Regions from separate parts of the Homo sapiens genome. Here region 2 is linked to region 1. Evidence: promoter capture Hi-C in 16 types of primary human blood cells and fetal thymus (Javierre and others, 2016). All regions are on one chromosome and are shown on one strand. Each heading gives the region's core, a stretch centred on a gene start or on the middle of the fragment in contact. The rest is flanking DNA. Distances are from core to core; before and after follow the strand shown.

What was found. Contacts are between HindIII fragments. The CHiCAGO score rates a contact against its expected background, and 5 or more counts as called.
Region 2: a fragment that was not itself captured here is called in contact with the fragment with the promoter of EPN2 in region 1 in 1 of 17 cell types (megakaryocytes); the score reaches 5.2 in megakaryocytes.

Annotation. Positions count from the first base shown.
Region 1 is chr17:19,233,378-19,240,495 of GRCh38, forward strand. EPN2 (epsin 2) reads left to right here and starts at 3,989. Exons shown (of 11, transcript NM_014964.5): 1 at 3,989-4,154. RefSeq lists a silencer at 3,897-4,366. The HindIII fragment of the contact is 5,263 bases long and covers 248-5,510 here.
Region 2 is chr17:19,726,508-19,733,200 of GRCh38, forward strand. No RefSeq gene overlaps it. Among named protein-coding and RNA genes, the nearest start is that of SLC47A2, 13 kb to the left of the region's middle. The HindIII fragment of the contact is 593 bases long and covers 1,243-1,835 here.

The DNA of each region.
Region 1 (7,118 bases), core at 2,739-5,238:
ACAAAAATTAGCCAGGTGTGGTGGCACATGTCTGTAATTCCAGCTACTTGGGAGGCTAAGGTAGGAAAATTGCTTGAACCTGGGAGGCGGAGGTTGCGGTGAACTCCGCGCCACTGCACTCCAGCCTGGGCAACAAGAACGAAACTTCGTCTCAAAAAACAAAGAAAAAAAGTTTAGCTTTGGAGTTTAGGCTTGGGTTTTCCAGGGTTACCACTTTTTAGCTGTGTTATCTTGGGCAAATAATGGAAGCTTTCTGAACCTCAGCTGTAAAATAAGGATAACGGTAGTCTCTACCTCTTAGGGTTTTTTATGAAGAGGAAATGAGGTACTGCATGCAAAACATTTGCACAATGCTCACTACTTTGTTGTCATTGTTACTAGTTCCTTTCTCCAGCACCTGCACTTCCAGGATGTTGGCACAGGTCCTTCCTTCCCCATGGGCTAGAAGGAAACTTCCTCCTGTGAGAGCTGTCATAGCTCTTTCTCTTGATTGTCTATGTGGCATTTGGTTTCTGCTCATGTTCATGCTGCCCAAACTCAAAACTTCTCTGTCCTAGACTTTCAACCCCTAGAAGGGAAAGGATGGCTCCATTCTTTTCAATGTCCTTAATAAGAGAACTGCCATCAACACCCATCCAGTGCATTTACAGTTTCCAAAGCATTTCCTCCTCTGCCTTTTCACCTGAGCCAGAATGCAATCCTAGGGAGTGGGAGGGGTTATTATTCCCACTTCACAGATGGGGAAACTGAGGTCCAGGGAGGGGCAGTGACGTCATGGTCAAGCAGCAAGTCGGTGGACAAGAAATTAGGTGTTTCTGGATTGCCAACACAAGTTTCTTTTTGTGGGACAAATAGTTTTGAATATAGAGTTCAAGCCTTTGGTGAAGATCCCGGGGAGCCTGTTCTGCACCTGTGCTAAGTGATTCTTTTCATTCAGCATGCAGTCTGTCCCTGTCTGCTGCCTGCCAGTCTTTCCCCCAAAGTCCCTTCCTGCTTGAAACCCTCCTTCCCTAACCCCAGAGACACCCCTGGCCTGCACTGCCAGCTCTTTCTTCTGAAATACACCTCTCCAACCGGCCCCCATCAGTCTGCTCCATTATCCACCTGGAACCAACCTCCAAACCTCTGCAAGGGCAGATGAGAGTGTCTCCTCCAGCCCTGTTTTCCATGGACTGCTTTGGGCACGGATGAAATTGTTCAGCTTATCCTGCAAGTTCCTCTGCAAGACTGCTTATGTGCTCTAGACTCATAGAACCTGGAATTGAATCCTAGCCCTGCCACATGCTGCCTCAGTTTCCGCATCTAAAATAGGAATAGGGCTGCTGACGTCAAGGGATCATCATGAGGATGAATTGAGAGAGGAATGCCAGGGGGCTGATACGCTTCAAGGAGGGGGTCCAGGAAAGAGAAATGACTTTGAGGAATGCAAGAATGTCCCCTCTGACCTTGCACGTGGCGGTCTTCCGGCCTCAGGACACCCTCCTCCACTTCCCAAGCCTGGGCTAATCTGGTATTCTCCAACTCACTTCCTGTCCTGTAGGTTAGCTCATCATCTCATTATCTGTATCCAGTTCTCTTTCCAGGCTTGCATATTATCTGTGCGGCTACACACACTTGCTAGGTGGGTAGTGAAGGGAGTATTAGGCTCTGCATATGGAAAAGTGGGCCTGGGTGGCCAAGCCCCAGCATATCTCCAAACCTCAATTTCTTGTCTGTAAAATGTGAACAGCAAGAATGTGCACCTTGCTGGGCACGGTGGCTCACACCTGTAATCCCAACACTTTGGGAGGCTGAGGCGGGAGGATCACGAGGTCAGGAGTTCGAGACCAGCCTGGCCAACATGGTGAAACCCTGTCTCTACTAAAAATACAAAAATTAGCCAGGTGTGGGGGTGCGGGCCTGTAATCCCAGCCACGTGGGAGGCTGAGGCAGGAGAATCACTTGAACCTGGGAGATGGAGGTTGCAGTGAGCTGAGATTGTGCCATTGCATTTCAGCCTGGGCAATAGAGTGAGACTCCGTCTCAAAACAAATAAATAAAAAAAGAATGTGCACTTGTGGAATTGTGGTAAGGTTTTAGACCAGCACTGGTCAGCATGGTAGCATCTAGCCACATATGGCTATTTACATTTAAATTAATAAAAGTTTAATGAAGTTTAAAAAATTCAGCCCCTCAGTCTCACTAGCCACATTTCAAGTGCTCGCTGGCCTCCTGTGACTCGTAGCTATCCTACGGACAGCACGCAGAAAGAACATTTCCATCGTGGAGGGAAATTCTGCTGAACAGTGCTGATTTAGAAGCATCACGCCCGTGCTGTGCATCAGCTCTGTGTTATAACTCATCTGACATTGTAAACTCAGGGCAGAAGCATGATTGCAGTGTAAAGTTCTGCTTTCCTTGGAGATGGGGTAAAGAGGTGAGGCTCACAAGGAATGTTGGACTGGTTGAGGGCATTCTCTGGGATGAGGGTGGACCAAGTTCAAAACGGGGAGCTCCGGCTTCTGCTGCAAGGCAGGCACATAGGGCATAATTCCCTCTGCTGGTGGAGAAGGGGCACCAAGCAGTGGGAAGGGTGGTTAACTGGAGAGTGTTTCTAGCATCTAGAGCTACCAGTGTTTGACTTTTCAAAGGAAAAGTGGCTATGTGGTTTTGCAAACGTGTTACAAGCTCTCTCCATTTTTATCGTATTTATTGTATCACTAGCTAGACTAATAAAGAAAAAAGAGAAGATACAAGTAAACATAATCAGAAAGGGCAAAGAGGACATTACCACCGACCCCATACAAACACAAAAAAGCCCTCAAAAACTATTATGAACACGTCTATGCACACACACTAAAAAACTTACAATAAATAGATGAATTCCTGGAAAGATACAACCTTTTTTTTTTTTGCCAGAGAATGGAATTCCAGATCCTGGGTTGTTAGAACCTTAAGGGATACTTTCATCCCCTGGTTCCTGTACAGGGAGGAGGAATCTGAGGCTCAGAGAAGTACAGTGACTTGTTTAAGGTCCCTCAGTGAGTTAGGGCAGAGGAAGACTTCTGGCCACAGCTTCCCTGAAGCCAAGGCTAGGCAGAGTGTTGATGTCACCCAGGCAACAGGGATGGTGCCCTCTGCCCACCTAGCAAGCCCTGACTCATGCTCCGCGCCCCTGCTGTGAGAAGTCTCTGCTGACTCCCACCCTGATTGGAGCAGGTTAGTCAGCTTTGAGGTGCAGCCTCCAGTTCTGGCCCCTCCAGTTCCGGGACTCTCATTCGAGGCATTTGGGGCTGTCTCATTTCTGTGCCCAGCACAGGGCTTGGCACAGAGGAGGTGCTTTGTGGGTGCCCGCCAGTCAAGGGTTTCCGTTTTCGTGCCATGTAGGTAACCCCTTGCCATTCGTGCCCTTAGGTAACCCCTTGAGCAGCCTAAAGAAGCCTAGAGACTTCTCCGTTTTTGAGTATATTTTATTGACGTGAAATACACGCACGGAAAAGCGCACAAATCCAAAGTGTACTTCCGCGCATCTTCATAAAGTGAACACACTTGTAGCCTAAGAACCCAACCCTACCAGCGCCCGGCAGGCCCTGGCCCCCTTCCAGTCTCTCCTACTGAACAAGGTTTTTGAGTGAAACCGGCAGGCCGGAGCGTGAGTTTCTGCTTGACGGGGCGGGGTCTGCGCGTGCTGCCCGGCCGTGAGTGTGGGGGGGCCGTGAGTGTGTACGGGGTGGAGTGGCCTGAAGGGGATTAGAGTGCGCGCGTTCGGGTATTAATTTGCCAGGGTTTGTGTGGCGCTCGGGATTGGGGGTTTTTTGGGGGCTCGGGCGTCGACTGTGGGGCGCTGCGGAAGGGTGGGTCGTCCGCGTGGGGTCCTGGAGCGCAGGAGGCGGAGGGGAAGCCGCGCAGGGGCCACTAGGGAGGGGCTCTGGCGGGGTCGCAGGGGCGTGGTCTGCGGGCGTGGGGGCGGGACCTCGGGGCCTCGGGGGCGGGGCCTGAGGGCGCGCGCACGCGTCCGGCGCGCCCCCTCCCGGCCGCCATGTTGGCTGGTGTGTGGGTGTCAAACTGAGCCAGACGCGGCGGTGGCGGCGGCTCCGCGGGCTACGGTCGCTCCCGCCTCTCGAGCGCTGCCGGTGGCCGCAGCGGCGCACCCACGCCGGCCCGGAGGAGCAGAGGTGAGCCACAGCCCGTGGGGCTCCAAGGCCAGAGCGAGTCCCCGGGGCGAGGACCCTCCCCCTCTCCAGGGCGCGGACGCCCCCAGAGCACAGGCTCCCCTACCTCACCAGCCCCGCCAGGGCATGCGCCCCTGCCGCCCCGCTGGTCCCTACGCCAGGCTCTGGGGGATCCCCTTCTTTCCAACCAGGCCCCGCCCCACGGACTGGAGCATGGCCCCCTTCCCATCTGGATCCAGCTTTCCGCTGCAAGGATCTCCCCCCTTACCCGTCCCTATCACCGAGCATCTCCTTTTATGTCCCCAGAGTCCAGGGCGCCCCTTACTCCTACCTCGGATCCTGGAGCCCCGTTCATCTTGGAACAACCCCGCCCCCTCCCCAGAGCACGTTCCTCCTCTCCCCGAGCCCGGCGCCCCTTCCTCCTGAGCCCAGCCTGGTCTCCCGCCAGCCCCCGTGCAGAGCCCGGTCCGGGCGCCCTCCGGGAATCGGGGGAGGGGTCCTTATCTCTGTCCGGGATCCCGCCCGTCTCACCTTTCCTGGGGGCTGTAGCAGGGCCCCCTTCCGTCCTTGGGGACCAGGCTCCCCACTCCCCAGCCCCCACTCCCACGGAACAGCGGGGACGGGGGCGGAAGAGCCAGGCTCCAGCTGCCTTTTGTTCCGCGTGGGATGGCAGAGACCCACCCGGCCCGGCGGTCCTGCTCGGCTGATCCGGGTGGGTGAATGGGTGCGTGGGGTCTGGCCTCTTCCAGGAGAGACTTCCTCTCTCTCCCTGTGGGGCGGCTCCCCTAGAGCCGAGAGCCGAGCGCGTTGGGAGGCTGGCCTTTGCTAGAGGAGTCGGTGCCAACAGGTTTTTGTTTGCGACCTGAAGTTTGCCCAGTGGCTTTCCCTGGGGCAGCTTGAGCTCCCTGTGAATCCCCCCGCCGGAGCTTGTGGAAGGCCGTTTCTCCGCCCAAGGAGTCCGTCTGGGCGACTCCTTCACAGTTGTGCTTCCCTGGGGACGTATCTAAAATCTGTGCTTTAAGAGCGGAGAGGGCTTAACCATCATTAGGGTTCAGATGAGGGAAACTGAGGCCCAGAACTGCAGTAATTTGCCCAAGGTCACGCAGTGATACTGTGTCAGTGCAGAACTAGAAGCTAGGTCTCCAGGCTCTGTTTACCACATTTAATAACTTTTTTATCTTTTAGGGAGATGTTCAGGACCCTACCTTCCCCTTTATTTTTAATATTTATGCAAGAAAGTGGGCAGGAAAATATGAGAAGTAATGAGTTATTCCTTTTCACCTCCAGAAAATATCCTGTGAAAGAAGGGATTGGAACAGGGTGTTAAAATGATGGGAAAAGGTGAATTTTAAGAATCCAAGCTTCCTCTCATTATGTAATATAACGAAGATTTGGCAGAAAACGTGCCTCTTGTAGCTCTAGATACAGAATTTTAGGTGCTGACAAAATCTTATGCTGAATCTGGCACAGCAGTGATTGAGTTAGCATTGATAATTAAGTTTTCATCTGTATTTAAATGAACATCAAAAGGGACTACAATTTGCTTCTGAATGGTACTTGTTCGGTGCTTGTTTTTGGGACAAGTGATTGTGTTGGGGAAGCGCACCTAAACTTTTAAATTTTTTATTTATTTATTTTTTTGAGACGGAGTCTCTGTCACCCAGGCTAGAGTGCAGTGGCACGATCTCGGCTCACCGAAACCTCCGCCTCCTGGGTTCAAGCGATTCTCCTGCCTCAGCCTCCGGAGTAGCTGGGATTACAGGCGCACGCCATCCACCACGCCCGGCTAATCTTTGTATTTTTAGTAGAGACGGGATTTCGCCACGTTGGCCAGGCTGGTCTCGAACTCCTGACCTCATGTGATCCGCCCACCTCGGCCTCCCAAAGTGCTGGGATTACAGGCGTGAGCCAACACTCCCGGCCTAAATCTTTTATTTATCTGTATTTTTACTTTTACATTTTAAAAGCTTATTTATTTCCCTGGTTTTAAAATTGGGCTAGTCATCTTTACCAGTCTCACTGGGCTATTCTTTTGTAAGCAGGGAATGAGATACTGGTTATTAAAGATTTTGGTAAAGTGTAAGTTACTGTAAGGCATGATTCAGGACTGCGTCCCACAAGTCCCCGGACCAGGAGCCAGTTCGGATTGTCTTGTGGGATGTACCAAGTTTCCCTGGTTTACAGAGGCTTTTTGCCTCTCTGAAGCCTGAGCTGGCCAGATGGAGAGCTCTGTGGAAAACTTCCAGCAGTGTGTGTTGGGCCAAGCACTCGAGGTGTGAAGAAATGTAAAACTTTCAAGTGATAATATCTAGCATCGTGTATGCAGCCTTGAAAAATGACCCAACCTTTGTAGAAATTCTCTGTTATCACTAACCCTCTTCCATAATGAGCGGAGGATTTCCCAAGAATTGGGATTCTGATAAGAGTCCTGCAAAAGTTGAAAAGTTTTCGGACTTTTTTTTTTTTTAACTTTAATTAGGAGGAGCGGCAACTTTCGGTTGTGAACTGAAGTACTATGAGATTTTTATGCATGGAATTGTCCTTGTCATACTTTTGGAAAGTACATTAAAATTTTCTAAGTTTTCTGGCGGTTCTCACTGTTCCCCATAACCTTTCTCTCTGGTGTATAGGGGTGTGAAGGACCACGATTGTTGTCATTTTATGACATGTATACCTGGTGACCCTGAGCCTTGGAGAAGTCAAAGGGCTTGGATTTGGGGAATTTTTTTTTTTTTGAGATGGCGTCTCACGCTGTCACCCAGGCTGGAGTGCAGTGGCGCAATCTTGGCTCACTGCAAACCTCTGCCTCCTGGGTTCAAGTGATTCTCCTGCCTAACCTCCCGAGTAGCTGGGACTACAGGCGTGTGCCACCATGCCCGGCTAATTTTTGTATTTTTAGTAGAGATAGGGTTTTGCCATGCTGGCCAGGCTGATCTCGAACTCCTGACTTCAAGTGATCCACCTATC
Region 2 (6,693 bases), core at 289-2,788, 490 kb after region 1:
CCTTGGCTCCTGATGTCTTAAAGACATAGACTAGATGAAACTCATTTGTAAGTAGCCCAGACATTACTTATATATCAATGAACACTGTAAAAGTTCTCAGGTTTCTTTTCTTAAGTAGGTTAAATAATCTGCATAACACATTTTGTTACATAACAAATATTTTTGAAGAAGGAGTAAGAGGAGGAGAACGAGGAGGAGGGGGGGGAGAAGGAGAAGATGACTCCTTTGGCTTGGAAAGAAAACTTTGGCTTGGCGTTTAGCATTTTCATTTCTACAAATTCCCCACAGAATACGTCTGAATGGTGTGTAGGAGTGTATGTGATGATGTAATGATATATGTAGGAATCGGAGCCTCCATTATGTGCTAATTGTGCAGCACGAGACACATCTCATTTAATCTCATTTAATGCCAACCTTTTCAGGCAGATATACTTATTCCCATTTTACAAATGACAGGATTGAAGCTCAGAGAAAGAAAGTACTTGCCCAAGGTCACACTGCTAGAAAGTGGCAGACTCAGAATATGAGGCTGAGTCTGTCTCCTATCCAAGTGCACATCCTTTCTACTTCATCTGGGATGACAGATAGCTTTTCTCCAGCCTGCCAGTTCTACTCTGTTGTACTGCATTGCTATATTGTGAATTCAGCGGATTCAGCAAAGCAAACAAGAGTGCGGTGATCAACTTGTAATGTCTGCCATGGACACTGGATAGAGGAGTAACAGTATGTGTGCTTATGGAAAAACCTCTCCAACTTACATCATAGTGAGCACAGGTTTAGGAGCAGAACTAGAAAGAAAATATTTTTTTCTGTCTGTCTAGCAACTGTTGGCCTGAAAAAGAACTCAGTGTCAGAATGGTCAGGAAGGCCCAGCCTTCCTACTGTCAGGGTGTCTAGCCGGGGCTAGGTCTCTCTGTCCTCACCCCTTTGCCTTCCCAAGGTAGGGAAGGTGTAGAAAATCCAGTTGGGAATTTCTGGTAGAAACTTCTACTCCTGGTGCCAATTTCTACCAGTCAGCTACCCTGTAAACTTCTATCAGGCATACAAGCCTTGGGAAACAGAGAGCTGTTGTCTTGCTCAAGCACAAGTTACCAGCAACAAACATTTGTTTCCCAGCAGATCACATGAGGACTTGTGAGATCATGTCTGGCCCTGGCTCAAATAGAAGATGTTCCATTAAAGCAGTTCCCGGGGACCAGGCCTAGGCAACTTTCCTAGGATGGGCAAGGCAGTTGTTCGGGAAGCTTGGCACCTGCACAGCCCCATTGTCATGTGAGGAAACGAAGGGTGTGAGCTTTCCCCCACCTGTCCACTTAGAAGCGTGGGTCAAAGCAGAGAAGAGGGGATATCTCCTTCCCATCTGCCCTTGTCCTCCCACCCCACCCAGGCTGAGGTGCCTCCTACTCCTCCTGCTCTGCTAAGAGGCTGAGATCTGTCTGAGCTGTTGGCAGAACCCTAGAAAGTGCTCCCAGGTCATCCCAGGCCTCCCAGAGGCAGGGTCTGGCAGGGTGGAGAGCTGCCATCATGGCAGAGAACTGCAGCATCAGGCAGGGAAACCAAGGCAGGGCCCAATGGGTGTGGGTGAAAGCTGCACATCCAGAAGTACACGGCTTCCCCCAGGCACCGCAGATCCTGGCCCTGAACGACAAGAGTGCCTGACCTCACGATTGCCAGCAGCTGCCTGTCCTGCAAGGCCTGGCCCTGTGCCAGGGCAGCTGCTTTGCGTGTGGCTGCCTCTCCTGCCCAAACAATTTCTGTTGCCTTTAGGAATGAAGGAGCTCAGGCCAAGCCCAGTTGGTGTTTTCAAAATTTCCTGTAAACAAAGGAAAAGATGAAGCTTATATAACACCCTTGGCTGGAGAATCAGCGGCTGCTTGGCATAGCTGAGAGAGAGGCCTGGGCGCAGACAGTGGTGTGTCCAGGCAGGCAGGGGCCTGGGTCATCCCTCTCAGGACTATTCTTTCTGAACCTTCTGCAAACTCTCCAGTGACCTCTGGGGCCCATTTCAGAGGTCTGAGCAGCTCAGGCTTGGAGAACCACAGAGCTAGAAGGAAAAAGTATTGGAAATAATAAGAACTAATATTCATTAGCCCCCGATTAGGCGCAAGTGCTTTACCTGCACAATCTCATTTAATCCACACCAACCCTAGGAGGCAAACACTGAGGTAACCAATTAGTAGCTGAAAGATAGGCCCGGGGGTGGGCCAGCCACCCACGTTCACATGGTTGGGTATGATCGATCACTTGGCCCTCAGCTTCCCTTCCACCTCCTGCTCACAGCTCTCTATGCAGCAGCAGCTAAAACCCACATTTCCCAGACTCCCCTGGGGCAGGGTTCCAGGGAAGAATGAAGTTCTGCACTTCAGATGCACTTGTGTGAGAGTTGGCTGCTTCGGGCCAGGCGCGGTGGCTCACGCCTGTAATCCCAGCACTTTGGGAGGCCGAGAAGGGTAGATCACAAGGTCAGGAGTTTGAGACCAACCTGACCAACATGCTGAAACCCTGTCTCTACTAAAAAAAAAAAAAAATTAATTAGCCGGGCGTGGTGGCAGGCGCCTGTAATCCCAGCTACTGGGGAGGCTGAGGCAGGAGAATCACTCGAACCCAGGAGGCGGAGGTTGTGGTGAGCTGAGATCAAGCCACTGCACTCCAGCCTGGGTGACAGAGGGAGACTCTGTCTCAAAAAAAAGAAAAAAAAAAAAAGAGTTGGCTGCTTTGGTTGCTGGGTTTCCTGCACTAGTGATCTCTTATCCAGCAGCCGCTTCTGTGAGTGTCAAGAAGCAGTTACAGTGGTGATGGCAGTGCCAGCTTCCCAGTCCCAGCTTCCCTTGGATTGAGCCCATGACAGGAAGGTTTTGTTTGTTTGAGATGGAGTTTTGCTCTTGTTGCCCAGGCTGGAGTGCAATGGCAAGATCTCGGCTCATTGCAACCTCCAGCTCCCAGGTTCAAGCGATACTCCTGCCTCAGCCTCCCAAATAACTGGAACTACAGGTGTGCAGCACCACGCCCAGCTAATTTTGTATTTTTAGTAGAGACGGGGTTTCACCATGTTGGCCAGGCTGGACTCAAACTCCTGACCTCAAGTGATCCGCCCGCCTCAGCCTCCCAAAGTGCTGGCATTACAGGCGTGAGCCACCGCTCCCGGCCGACAGGGAGTTCTTGACTTTCACAGTTGCAGGGTGGCCTCAGGTGGGTGGTGTGTGTGCGCAGGGATCTGCACAAAGACTGGCGTTGCGCGGGTGTCTACAGTCTGGAGGCCCTGCTGACGCCCTGCAGTCCTGGGGAGGAAGAGACTTGGAGGGAGGAGGTGCTGGGAGGTCTAAGCAGAAGTCTCAGGAGAACAAGCCCGCCCTGTTCAGGAGACACTGGAACAAGGAGTACACCAAGCGGTAAGAGGAGGAGAGATAAGAGGCTCTCAGATGTAAGTAATGGGAAATGCTTCAAAATGGCAAAATGGCTTGAGGAAAAGAAAATTTGTTAAAGGGAAGGCAGCTCCAGCAGCTCATTCACATCCCAGAGCAGCCCAGGGGCATCATCTCCCTACTAAGCCGGTCTCAGCCCGCCGGCCTCGCCTCAGGGCTGTCCTCATGGCCACAAGATGGCTGTGCATTCCAAGTTCACAACCAGACATGCCACTCTCTGGCGGGAGAGGGGTCGCCCTTTCTTGTGCATCTGTTTTTATTGGTGCTATGATCTGAATGTTTGTGTCCCCCTAAGCATTCAGGTGTTGAAATCCTTGTCCCCAGTGTGATGGTATTAGGAGTTTGGGGCCTTTGGGAGGTGATTAGTGCCCTTACAAAAAAGGCCTGAGGGGCCGGGCAGGTGCCTGTAATCACAGCACTCTGAGAGGCTGAGGCGGGCAGATCACTTGATGTCGGGAGTTTGAGACCAGCCTGGCCAACATGGTGAAACACCATCTCTACTAAAAATACTCTACTAAAAATTAGCTGGGCGTGGTGGTGCACGCCTGTAATCCCAGCACTTTGGGAGGCCAAGGTGAGTGGATCACTTGAGGCCAAGAGTTCGAGACCAGCCTGACCAACATGGTGAAACCCCATCTCTACTAAAAATACAAAAATTAGCTGGGCGTGGTGGTACACACCTGTAATTCCAGCTACTCGGGAGGCTGAGGCAGGAGAATCACTTGAACCCGGGAGGTGAAGTTTGCAGTGAGCCAAGATTGTGCCACTGCACTCCAGCCTGGGTGACAGAGTGAGACTCTGTCTAAAACAAAAAACAAAAAACAAACAAATAACATATAACCCAGATATAGTGATGCCCTGGCTCTAGCCTAGAACATAGGATGAAAATCTCAGGATCCTAAGCATCATCATTTTTAAAGAAATTTTCAAAATTGAATTCTGTTAACAATGAGGGAGGAGGAACAGATTTGCACAGGCAACAGCAGTGTTTGCCACGCTTGCTCAGTCCAGGCAGTCAGTCCAGCCACTCAAGGTGACTCCAGAGAAATTTTGGGAAAGAAGGGGACTCAGAGAAGGAGCCACCCTGCTGTCCCCTGGGCAGGGCTGGCCCACAGCAGAGGCGGAGCTGAGTCCAAGCCTGGCACCAGTCCTCCCTGCAGCCTTCTGGAGTGTGAGCTGGTGAAGTTCCTTTTTTAAACTTTTTGAATCTTAGTTTGCTGCTATTTCAACATCATCCTGACAGATTGGGATCCGGGAAATGTCACCCGCTCAGCCTTGAGTACCCCAAAGTGGGATGAGCAGAGAGGTGGCCAAGGAGTAGAGGGGAGTCCCGGCAGAGCAGTGAGGGCTCTGGAGCCGGGGGCCCCACATTCAAGGCAGATGGTGTGGGAACTGCCTGGATGGCAGCAGTTGGGGGAGAGGGGACAAGAGTCATTGCAGGTCAGGGTTGGAGCTCAGGGGCCCGTGCCCTACCTTTCCCTCAGGCAAGTCCTCAACCAATGGTCTCTAAACACCAGCACACCCCTCATGACCTGCATGGCGTGGCCTGGCTTTGTAGGGTAGTTCTCATGTCACTTTATTCCTGTGTTTATTGTCTTTCTCTGTCCATGCAGCAGGGACATTTGCTGCTCAACAAATAACGACTGCTCCTCCACAGTTCCCAGAACCCTTTCAGCTCTGGGCTGTGGTCCTGGCCAGTGGGCTATGAGTGGAGGTGATCTGGGGTGGCCTCTCCAGTTCTCCCTTCCCTGCTTTGGTGAACCCCTAGCCCTGCACTGAGATGGTGAAGGCTCTGTCAGCTCCTCTCTGGTTGACCTTGTGGAGCAGAGCTCCCCCAACCTCCTCTGTAGCCGCCGCCATTCTGAGGTTAACTTGTTCCTGCCGCATAACCCTGCAGGTCCTGCCGAAGACGCTCCCATCAAGGTGAGCTCCTCGAGCGCAGTCCCCGCCACGACTGCCTGCTGGAGGAACCCATAGGTGGGCGCAATCTTCCCTTCTGCTCTAGAACATCAGGAGACAGAGGGCATCAGCAATGCAACAGAGACGGAAGCCTTTTATGGCTTGAGACTTTGCCTTTTAGTTTCCTGTTTGGGAGAGACTCTACATTTTCTTTTGTTTTGCTTTGTTTTTTTGTTTGTTTGTTTTGAGACAGAGTCTCACTCTGTCACCCAGGCTGGAGTGTAGAGATGCTACCTTGGCTCACTGCAACATCTACCTCCTAGGTTCAAGCGATTCTCCTGCCTCAGCCTCCAGAGTAGCTGGATTACAGGCACCTGCCACCACACCCAGCTAATTTTTGTATTTTAGTAGAGAAGGGGTTTCACCATGTTGGTTAGGCTGGTCTCAAACTCCTGACCTCAAATGATCTGCCCGCCTCAGCCTCCCAAAGTGCTGGGATTACATACATTTTTTTTTTAATCTGAGAATCTAAACACCAGGAGCAATCAATGGACTCAACAATGGCATGCTATGGCTGTGGCTCCTGGGCAGAAGTAGGCCCCCTTCTGTGCACCATGCATAGCATGGCATGGATTGCAATGTGCAATCCGGAAATGTCACCTGCTCTCCTTGGTGACACGAGAGTTGCGATTATCCTTGGTCTTTATGTTTTGGACAATAGCAATTATGTGGAAAGGTTGAATCATAATTGGGCAAATATTTTTTTCCAGCCCATTCCTTAATCCATGTCATAGAAAGAAAAAACAGTAGATTAAATCATGGTGTTGGGACTAGACCAATTTTTTTAAATTGCTGTTTTATTTTAAATTGAGATCTAATTTGGAAATAGAATTAGTTCAGAAAAGGTCAGACTTGGGGCATTATGAATAAAGTAGGTAATATTGTAAATTGTGTCATACTAACAACACATAGAAAAAGGAGATGGACGAGGATGAAAAGAAGAGGAAGAGGAGAAAGAGGTGATTATGATTCTCACCCACCTGCTCTAATTCTTCAGTTTGGAAAGTGCAGATAATGTCCTTGGGAACCCTTAGCTTTCTCTCCTCCATTCTGAATGTTTCCAACTGCGTCAATAGCTCCTGATGCAAAGGTTTTGAGGAGGCTCTGTGATGTCAGAGAAGACCAGATGCCCCAGAGCTGTGGCACCTGTGGCTGGCACCCGGAGACCTTGGCTAGTGACACTGCTTCTTAAACCTCAGGTTCCTAATCTATAAATAGAGTCAGTGTGGTGGCTTACGCCTGCAATCCCAGTACTTTGGGAGGCTCAAGCAGGAGGATCAGTTGAGGCCAGGAGTTCAAGACCAGCCTGGGC